2 separate regions of the Homo sapiens genome follow, and region 1 is linked to region 2. Evidence: promoter capture Hi-C in 16 types of primary human blood cells and fetal thymus (Javierre and others, 2016). All regions are on one chromosome and are shown on one strand. Each heading gives the region's core, a stretch centred on a gene start or on the middle of the fragment in contact. The rest is flanking DNA. Distances are from core to core; before and after follow the strand shown.

The links. Contacts are between HindIII fragments. The CHiCAGO score rates a contact against its expected background, and 5 or more counts as called.
Region 1: a fragment that was not itself captured here is called in contact with the fragment with the promoter of BCAP29 in region 2 in 1 of 17 cell types (erythroblasts); the score reaches 7.7 in erythroblasts.

What each region holds. Positions count from the first base shown.
Region 1 is chr7:107,899,568-107,905,076 of GRCh38, forward strand. DLD (dihydrolipoamide dehydrogenase) reads left to right here. Exons shown (of 14, transcript NM_000108.5): 3 at 2,171-2,250; 4 at 2,758-2,826; 5 at 3,911-3,980; 6 at 5,391-5,491. Among named protein-coding and RNA genes, the nearest start is that of DLD, 11 kb to the left of the region's middle. The HindIII fragment of the contact is 3,883 bases long and covers 1,085-4,967 here.
Region 2 is chr7:107,578,114-107,583,616 of GRCh38, forward strand. It overlaps BCAP29 (B cell receptor associated protein 29), which reads left to right and starts at 2,133. Exons shown (of 8, transcript NM_018844.4): 1 at 2,133-2,188; 2 at 2,646-2,751. The coding sequence starts at 2,660. It overlaps DUS4L-BCAP29 (DUS4L-BCAP29 readthrough), which reads left to right. Exons shown (of 13, transcript NR_163941.2): 7 at 2,646-2,751. DUS4L (dihydrouridine synthase 4 like) reads left to right here. Exons shown (of 8, transcript NM_181581.3): 8 at 1-410. RefSeq lists a silencer at 1,991-2,480 and an enhancer at 2,571-2,640. The HindIII fragment of the contact is 6,036 bases long and covers 14-5,503 here.

The sequences.
Region 1 (5,509 bases), core at 1,776-4,275, 320 kb after region 2:
TACATATACTTAAAATCTAAAATATTTAATTCAGTTTTATTGTCATTAAAAGGGTTTTTGGAGAATTATAGCAGTAATATATGTTATAAATATATATGCTCATGTAAGAGTGAGAAAAGAATATAAAATATGGCAAAAATTGAATTTTATAAAAACTTTCCTAGAAGAAGGATTGGGAGGACCTATAAACAGTTCTCTCTGGGCTGTATGGCAATGTGGATGGGTTGTTTTTTTTTTAATTTTGCTTTAGTGTATTTAAATTTATTCAGTAAACCTAAATTTTTAATCAGAAAAGACATTAAAAATTCAGCAAAGAAACCTGTTTTGTAGCTTGTATTTACATTACTCTGAAATTAAAAATTAGAACCCATTTAAGGGATGTTGTGTAGATCGTCATTTGGTTCAAGATTTGAAAATAAAAATACATTTTATTAGATACTTAATTCTGAACCGAAATCAGTGAACCAAGCAGGGTGGCTAAAAAGCACAGATGGATCAGTAAAAATTGAAGCAATTTTTCATGTATTGAAATGACTATACATATTTTTTCATGTATTATCTCAATTATCATCTGCTATAACCAAAGAGAATCTAGTATTTTCATTTATTCAACAGGAGGGATTCTTAGATTTTGTGGATAATTGGGCTGAGTAACTTAGTTATCCACCAACACAGAGGTTCTGTGATTCTGTTCAGGCCAGCAAAGGTTTTTTGAATGATCCTACTCTAGGGATGTGTGTTTTTGGGGAGAGGGGGTGATGCAAATTAAAATAGTCTTCTTTGTAGGTCAGAATATAGCTACTATGTATAGAATACTTATTATGTATGCTATAGGTACTATGCTAAATTATTTACATACATTATTTTATTCTGTTATCACCCTATGAAGTAGGTTTTTTTTGTGGTCTTTCTTTTGCCAGGTATGGAAACAAAGATGAAGCAGGTTAAATTACTCACCTAAGGTCACATAGGTAGTGATTATAAAGCTTGATTATTGCTCTCTGGAATTTTAGTTTATGATGGTTAAAACTGAGGAATGGAATAGTATTGAATAATGGAAAGACCACCGGAAGTAGAGTCAAAAAGCTTAGTTTGTCTCTGCAACTCACTTGCTGGTTAACCTTAGACAAGTTAATTGACCTCTCTGAACTTCTTGTTTATTCTGTGAAATGTCTTATTTATGACATCTTTATCTTCCTCATAGGAAATTCTGAGACTCAAACATGATAATATATGTGAATATGTGTTATGAATTGCTAAATGCTAGACTAGTTGGGGTTGTCAGGACAGTGGAAGGGGAAGAAAAGGGAGACTGTTTCCTAACTCTTAACAGTCACTGTTACTTTATTTGAAGTTGGATTGAGAAGAATGGGAGTAATTGGACTTACTTGCACATTTGTATTACAATTGTTAAACTCCTAAGGATACTGATCAAAATTAATTTTCAATTTTTTATCTTTATTTGAAAAATGGCCACAATAGTTAATTGAATATTCTGGTTAGCCTATTATCTTAAGGTATGTAAAAATTATCAATATGCAAGTACAAAACATATTTGTTAAATATTACATAGAAGCTGTTTTTTCCCTCATATTTCAGAAGTTAAGGACCTGAAAAAGGTAATAGGTCTTAAATTTATTGGAAATACTAAAGCATTATATAAAATTATCTTATTTAATTCTAACATCAATCATTGAAGGCAGTGTTTTCATCCCCATATTACAGAAAGGTTAAGTCATTGGGTCAAGTTCATACAACTACTCATTGGCCGTGCTGAGATATGAAGCCCAGAATGTCAGATTCCAAAGCTCAGGCTCTTTGCTTCATACATACTTGTCTTCCAGTATCACTAAATTCCGTCAGTTATTAAATCAATAGAATTTAGGAAGGTCAGTGAATACAATGTGAGTGTTACAGAACTCAGTTGTGTTTCTGTATGTTGTAATGAATAGAAAATAATAGAAAATGAAATTTGAGTATTTATGCCATTTTTCAGTAGCATCAAAGAGCATCAAGTAGTAGTAATAAAATAGTGCAGAAACTATGTAGAAAATGCTGATTTGTACTGTAAGAGGTTTAAGTATCGGGTTATTTGTTTGCTCTTCCAAAGAGCTCTTTTTGGTAAATATTAAGCAATTTACTATTTTATATCAATTTGCTTTTATCGTAGTTGATGCTGATGTAACAGTTATAGGTTCTGGTCCTGGAGGATATGTTGCTGCTATTAAAGCTGCCCAGTTAGGCTTCAAGGTAAGGTTTGAACTCAAACTAAGTATTGATTTATTTTAATTTGGGAAGGGTTGATCATATTTATAAAGTACTTTGCAGGCAAAAACATGGTAAATACTTCCTTAACTCTATAAATTACTTGTAAGCCTGAGACTAATAAAGATTAGGTTCATTTGGTTGTAGTATTCTCTTGGAATGGAAAGTGAAATCTATTAGTTTTCTTCTCTTCCCAGTACTTTTCATTTTGGCATCTAATCACACTTTGGAAGATACAGTGATAGAACTAAAAGCATATATTTGGTAATGTTAAGCACACAAAAATATCTTTTAGAATAATTCACTTTTGGGTCAGCCCAAAAGTGTTTATTATTATTCAAATGATAAATTATAAAGGACTATATATTTTAGTCTGTGAAAACATAGCCCGAATAGCTTGTTTTGTAGAAGAATTAAGACATATATTTGGAATTTTAGTGATCTGAAACATTGAGGTTATGTGCAGTTAAATAATGTTTTCTTTGGTTGTAGACAGTCTGCATTGAGAAAAATGAAACACTTGGTGGAACATGCTTGAATGTTGGTTGTATTCCTTCTAAGGTGAGCATGTGTTTTGTACAGCACAGAGATTGTTTTTGGCTAGCAACCAACTAGAAGGATGGATTGAGACTAGATTAGACAAATACACTTGTTAAAAAACAATCCAAGTTGTGGCACATTTCACACAGAGAAAAAAAAGAATGATAAAAAACACACTTCTCTTTTGTAAAACTTAAAGAGTGCTGTCACTAGTCTGCCACACATTCCTGAAATAACTTCCTTGTCTCAGAATGCCTAGCTTTCCATTCAAACAGACTCTGATGTTCTAGTTTTTTCTCTTTATCTTTCCTTCACCAGTGTAACAGATAATAGATAGTAAATTGTTCTTTTAGGTCCTTTTTGTATGTAAACATGACTGCCTTTTTCACCTGCCACCCTGAAGTGTGTACTTATGCCTTTACTTTTAAAGAAAGTAAAAATGTCTTTTTCATTCTTGTTTGTTGAATGTTTTTCACATCATTATTGTTTGTCTTTGATTAATAAGAGAAACTGAATTGGTGTAGTGCCATATACTATTCCATGTAGAGAATGCCATGTCTTTTTTTTAACTTCTTTTTAAATTTTTATTGTAAATTGACAAATTACAATTGTATATATTTATGGCATACAAAGTGGTGTTATGATTTATGACTATAATGTGGAATAATTTAGTCAAGTTAATTAACATATTCATTACCACAGTACTTATCATTTTTGTGATGAGAACATTTGAAAGAGAATATCGGCCGGGCGCGGTGGCTCACGTCTGTAATCCCAGCACTTTGGGAGGCCGAGGCGGGTGGATCACCTGAGGCTGGGAGTTTGGGACCAGCCTGACCAACATGGAGAAACCCCATCTCTACTAAAAATACAAAATTAGCCAGGCGTGGTGATGCATGCCTGTAATCCCAGGGACAATTGCTTGAGCCCGGGAGGCGGAGGTTGCGGTGAGCTGAGATGGCGCCATTGCACTCCAGCTTGGGCAATAAGAACGAAACTCCGTCTCAAAAAATGAAAAGAAAGACTATCATTTCATAAGTGCTTTTTGATTATTTGAAGTCTGTTTATGAATATTTGATAATTTGATCTTTTTAATTTCCTTTAGGCTTTATTGAACAACTCTCATTATTACCATATGGCCCATGGAAAAGATTTTGCATCTAGAGGAATTGAAAGTAAGTATACTTTTCATGCTTAATGATATTACCAGACTGCTTGACTTGGCTCTTCTGTCTAAAGACTTAAATGTGTCTAACGTACGCATAATAGATGTTTAGTGAAGGAAGAGTAAAATAAATAATCTAAAAAATGTGGAGAGATTTACTTAAAAAAGAAGGCCTAAATCCAGATTTCTCCCAGCCAAGTATAACCAAGCCTAACCCTGCAAATCCAGATTTCTACCATTATATCTTCTGTTCCTTTGCCAACTTTTTCCTGAGGTTTGCCTTTATGTGTTTTTGAAGAGTCAGTTTTCATTTCCTAAAATCTGGAAATCACTGAGAAGGCTGGATTCCTGAGTACTATGGGGAGATAGAGGAAGGAAGGAAGGCCCACTTAAGCTGTTGATAGTAGAAAAATTAGAGGAGAGAAAGAGTGAGGCATAGCGGAAAAGGAAGAGGACATTTCATAACGTATCTTGTCTCCTGACATACTTTTTGAGCTGTTTTAATCTTTTGTCTCCAATTATTGTTGTTGTTAGATACTTCCAGAAAGGTAGTCTCTTCTGGGCAGGACCTAGTCATAACCTTGGGTTGTTACTTTTCCTTCATTTGTTTCTTTACAGAGGTAGGTTTGAGGGGCTACTTAAGGCAATCCATTGGGTATAGAGATGATGTATATGCACTAAAGCAAATAGAATATCATACTAGTTGAAAAATGGAATGACGTAAAGAAAGAAGAGCTAGGGGTAGTCAGGAGACCTGCATTGTAGGCAAGGCTTTTACATCCTAGCTCTGTGACCTTGGGTAAATCAGAAATCTCTCAGAGTCTCTTTTTCCTTATCTCTAATATATGTGTTGGTTATATGAGGTACTTTCTAAGATACCCTTCTTACCTCTAAAGTTTAATTGAGTTGAGCATTTTTATCTAATACTGTTGCTTCAGAGTTCTCTTCTGAGTTGAATGAGTGATTAAAACCTAGGTGATTAAACTTTTTAATGTTAAGCTTCTGTATTTGAAATTTTTAAACGTGTATTTTTTATTTGTTTTGTTTCATGAAATCTAGCATTTTCCTTTATTTAAAATTTCAGATGATGTTTTACTTTGTCATTTCTACTTACATATCTTCCAGACTTATAACCATCGTAAAGTGTTCAGAGGATATGTTATCACAGTGGGATATAATGTTTTATTTTGGACTGCCTTTTTACCCAAGGTAGACATTTTATAGTGTTTGATAGGTTCTGTTTCTGTGATACAATGATGTTGGCCTTTTGTCAACTATAATTATAAGTTATTACATTTTGAAACTTTAATACTGCCTTTTATAAGCATTAGGTTGAAATTTTCCAGTTGGTGAGTGAAAAACACTGCATATTGCTTCAAGAATTTAGCTAAGAACTAAAGATTAATTGAACAAATTACAGTGTCCGAAGTTCGCTTGAATTTAGACAAGATGATGGAGCAGAAGAGTACTGCAGTAAAAGCTTTAACAGGTGGAATTGCCCACTTATTCAAACAGAATAAGGTCAGTGTTTAATATTCA
Region 2 (5,503 bases), core at 883-3,382:
TCCAAAGATTGAAAGCTTAATAATCTCCTACCTAAAAAGATAAAATTAATTGCAATCTACCATATCTTAAGTATAGGAAATTTGGTGTCCAACCTGGAGATGATTATATATTTGAAATATTTCCTAGAGAATAGTAACCAGGTTTTGTTTTTAACTTTAAAACCTAATTACTTTTGTGCCTCTCAGCCGTTGATTGTAACTTTAAAGTCCCATGGTTTTGGAGTGTTATTAATAGATTTTGTTATCGGTGGGCATGCACTGCAAGAATTAAGTATCTCAGACTGAAATAAAACCGTTCATAATTAAAGTATTATTTTGTTTTGCCAACATGAAAACTGTTATAAGGAAACAATTATGTAAAACTGTTTAATTCACGTTTGGGAATATTGAATGAATCCATTTTAACATAAGCACTGTGGTGCCATCTTTTTTCTCAGTACATTCTGTTTTCACTTTTCAGTTAATGCATTTTTTTTTTTAAAGATAACTCGCTGTTTCATTTTCTATGAATACTGTACAAAATAGGGAGGTATGGTCAGAACTCTGAATTGAATTACCCTAGTGTTGTGAGCACAGCATCATCACTAGAGTAATGTGCTCGGTGTTTGGAAGGAACCAGCGTGGATGGGCAAGAAGTTCTAACACTTTTGATTAAAAGTAACTTCCTGGCCGGGCGCGGTGGCTCACGCCTGTGATCCCAGCACTTTGGGAGGCCAAGACGGGCAGATCACGAGGTCAGGAGATCAAGACCATCCTGGATAACACGGTGAAACCCCGTCTCTACTAAAAATACAAAAATTAGCTGGGCGTGGTGGCGGGCGCCTATAGTCCCAGCTACTCAGGAGGCTGAGGCAGGAGAATGGTGTGAACCTGGGAGGTGGAGCTTGCAGTGAGCTGAGATTGCGCCACTGCACTCCTGCCTGGGCAACAGAGCAAGACTCTGTCTCAAAAAAAAAAAAAAAAAAGTAACTTCCTGGCTAGGCGCGGTGGCTCACACCTGTAATCCCAACAGTTTGGGAGGCCAAGGCAGGCAGATCACTTGAGTCCAGGAGTTCGAGACCAGCCTGGCCAACATGGTGAAACCCTGTCTCTGCTAAAAATACAACAATTAGCTAGGCATGGTGGCAGGCGCCTGTAATCCCAGCCACTCTGGAGACTGGGGCCAGAGAATCACTTGAACCTGGGAGGCAGAGGCTACAGTGAGCCGAGATCGCACCACCACAATCCAGCCTGGGCGACATTGGGAGACTCCATCTCAAAAAAAAAAAAAAAATCTTCCTTATGGTTAATTTATGTTCAAAGTCTATTTTTCTATTTTTTCTGTTACATGTGATCCAGAATATTAGTGATAAATTAAGAAAAAGCACCAACTTAAATGTGTTTTTGAATGTTTTATATTCTATAATTATCAATTTTCAACATTTATTTACTATTCCCCAAATAATTGTTACCAGGATAGTACTTTTATTAAATTCCTGATACGTTGTCAATATTGAAAAAACTCAACAACTTAAATGTACACGCACAGTTTGAAAAGCTGGAAAATAGTGAAAGAATATCCCCATACCCACCTTTCGTACCAGTCCCCAAACATCACGGTAAAGTTTACTGTCTCTTCCCAGCCCATGGACGGGAACGGGAACGCCTACGGAATATGTTGTGACATACAGTTGATCCTAGGTTCTCCAGAACAAAATGCTGCACGACCACCTCATCCTGGCCCTTTATTAAATATAGCTTAATTCTGGACACAAACAGTTCCCACCATGAAGAGAGAGTAGGTGACCGGAAAGGAGTGCGTCTTAAGCGCGTTCGCTGAATTTGCACCACCCAATCCAGCCCCGCCGCCCGGCGCCGCTCCTTAGACCTGGACCCCGGCACCCTCCCGCCGGGGCCGCACTTAGCAGTGGAAAGTCTGTCCTCCTGAAGAAGTTGCGCTCCGACCTCCAAGCATCAGGTCAAAAGTCTAACTCATTCTCTGACCTGCCGCCAATTAGAAAACAACTGTTGCCAATAAACGTGGTCGCGCCGCCTGTGACCTCAGCCGGGACGGACCCGCGGGCGGGAGCCTGCGGGGCGTGAGGCGGGGTGGGGCCCTGGCTCCCCTCCCCCGCCCAGCCGCGGCGTCTGACGTCCCGCGCGTCGGCGGCCGCGGAGCAGCGCAGGGAGCCAGGCGGGCTGCCGGCGGGTAAGGGCTTCTGCGACCCGGGGACCCGTGGGGCGTAGGCCGCGGAGGGAGAGCGCCGCTGCCTGGTCTGGAGAACCCCGCGGAGCTGGCCTGGCCCGACCCGGCCCGGCCCGGTCCGCGGCGCGGTGGTCGAGGGCCCGCGGCGCCTTCTGGGAGCGGGAGGGCCGGGAAGCCGGGCGTTGGTGGAGGGAGGCGTTGGGCTTCTGTCGCCGCGAAGCTGGCGGAAAAGGCAGTGGCCAGCGAGCCGCCTCGCCAGTTCCCACGACTCCCAGGGAGGTGGCGACACCCGCTTCCCGGGCCACCCTTTTCCCCTTCCTGACCGGGGTCCGTGCTTGCCTTCCCAGGTGGGGGAAGGTGGAACACTGTCCATCCCCTGGACAAAAACGCTGCGCCTCGGGGCCTTGAACCCGGTTTTGTTTGAAAGGAAGCAAGAGAAAATAAGTGTTTTTCCATTTAGGTGTGAAGAAAAAAATGACACTCCAATGGGCTGCAGTGGCAACCTTTCTTTATGCCGAAATAGGACTCATTTTAATCTTCTGCCTACCTTTTATTCCTCCTCAGAGGTAGGAAACCTTCAAATCGTTAACTAATAAATATTGGATCGCTCTTAATGTAAAATGGAAAAAGTTTTCTGAACATTAAAAAGTTTCGAAAGTCTTTGAAAATAAACTCACCTAACGAATTAGGTAGTATATAATGACAATATTAAAATAACATTTTATATAAAACTCTGTTACGTGTACAAGTGAAATAACTTTTTCTTCCCTTCTAAAAGAAAAGGCGCCTATACTTTTGATTCTGTTGATTACAGATATAATAAAGCAACGATTATACTTTTAACACCTGCCCTGCCTTGTCTCAGGTTTTACCTTTGTTTTATTGCCCTGAATTGGAGCCATGAACTAAATAAATATAAGTGGATAAATCATGTTTACAGTACAGCATGGGTGTAAAAGTGTTTCACTGAGGCACTGGAACAGCAATTTAGAAACCAAAGCCAATAAATTATTCTTAGTTTTCGCCTTTGTAACCGTTAGTTTCATTAATGACAATTTTACTACTTTTGATTTCACATAAAATTAATGAATGTATATTAAAAGTGCTGAATGTGAAAAGTATCACAACCATGTATTAGCATTAGTTCGTTAGTGACGGAACTTCTAAGGTCTTGAAGAACCAAGTACAGTGTTTCAAGCCAAGCAGTGGTTCATTTTACCCTTGCAGTAATCTACTTTTTAGTCGTTTAATTTTAGATCCAGAAATTTGATAGTATGAATGGGGAAATACACATGTAATAAAAATATTGCAAGATATTTGTTCATACTCCTGGCATAAAAGAAAGTATTTCATAAGTGAGATCCTAGAGATAACCCACTAAAGTGTATTAAAATCCCAGGACTGGGAGAAACTTCTTAAAGTTTCACCTTAGCTCAGGGTCCAGATAGTCTTTCACAACTCCTAACTTGCTCCTTACCTGCCTGGATTTCTGCTCTCTTCTGTCCTTCTCTATCAGCTAAGCTAAGCTCAGTAAGTTGTTTCTTACTAAAGAAAAAAAATTGAATCATACTGTAGGGTCTTTGATCTTATTTGATCCATTCCACCCATGTTCTATATATCACGTACTGAGACCCAGGAGGGCAAGTAGCCTACGGTTACCTAGCTGGTAAGTGACAGATTCTAGAAAAAAATCTGGCTCTTAGTCCAGTGTTCTTTCTACTCCATCATGCTGCCTCTCATCCTGTAGGTTTTGTTTCAAACTCAGTAACACCCTGTTTTGCTTTTTGGTAATATTTGCAATGATAGAATCCTATATACTCAAGAGAAAGAAAGATTTTGTATATAAACATCTAATTTATAGATAAGGCTTAAGGGTTTGCAAAGAAGGAAAAATTGTCAGTTGATCTTTACTCCATCAGAGTGATCTGTAACTTATGGATCAATATTTTTCTTCCTGCCAAATAAAAATTTTACCCATCCTGATCAAGTAGCTATTAGATAGATGTGTGTATATTTGCATATGATATATAAATGTGTTCTCATGTACAGATATAAAGAAAATACGGTATGTATGCACGCAGATCATTTACAATATGTCCTATGTGTGTATCCACATCTTTTTATCTTTTATATTTGTATCACCATAATCTTTAAAGAAAATATTTCATCATTTAGTCTCTATTATTTTCTTACATAACCCAGTGGTTAAAGGCACATGCTCAGAAATCAGGTCACCTATAACTGCATGTTACTAACCTTGGGCATGCTCTTGATCCTCTCTGATCTGTTTCCCCATCTGTAAAATGGAGGTAGTACTAGTGTCTACCCCTTACGGTAGTTGTTGTAATTAAATGAGATAAAACATGTAAAAGTACTTAGAACCATAATATAGTGAGAACACAATAGGTATTAGCTATGATAAGGTGCTCAACTGCTAGTTGTTCCCTATGAGAGATCTCTTACATTCCCTTTTACACCACACCAAACCTTGAAGAAATAAGTAAATTTACATTTGGACCTAGATCAAGGTATTACCACTTATGTTCTCTTAAAAATATAAAATTTTATATTGCATAATTTAAATATTGGCTGTATAAAATGCTTGGACTTGGAAGCAGAGACAAAATGAACCGATTCATCTGTATGAATCTCCCTCAACCCACCAATTTCAAGTAGTTACTTGAAGTTGTCCTAATCTTAAATCTTAAATGTGTCCTAATCTTAAAGTGAAACTGTTTTTTTCAAGTTGTAAGTGCTTGAAGCTATTTAAGTGCTTACTACATTTTTCTGCCTCCTTTCAACTAAAGTGTTACTCATTTAAATTGCCCTTGTACAAAGTTTGTTACCTTTCCTATTGCGTGATGGATTATTTTGCCACTTTGCCATTTATAACCCATGCTTTCTTACCACTGTCTTTGTTTATACTGTTCAATCCACCTAGACTATTTCCCCATCTCATTTCCTCTATGTTCACATCTTTATCTGTAGTAATTACATGGTTTTATATATATATATATAGTGTGTGTGTGAAAATTATCAAGCTACATATTTAAGATTTTTTCAATTTATGTGTATAATACCTGGGTAGTTTTTATAATTCCCTCATGGTTAAAGTAGAGAAACTTTTAGTTGGAGTATACGTTAAAATTGTACTATATAAAAATCAGTATGCAGAGTTAGACCCCACTCCTGAAATGTTGCCAATTGTTAGAACAATATATCTTTATTTCTAAGTCATTTCTCTGACCATGAAAAAGATACAGAGTAGTAGCTTCTATCAACAATATAATATTTTACTACTGCAAGAATTCCTTTTTA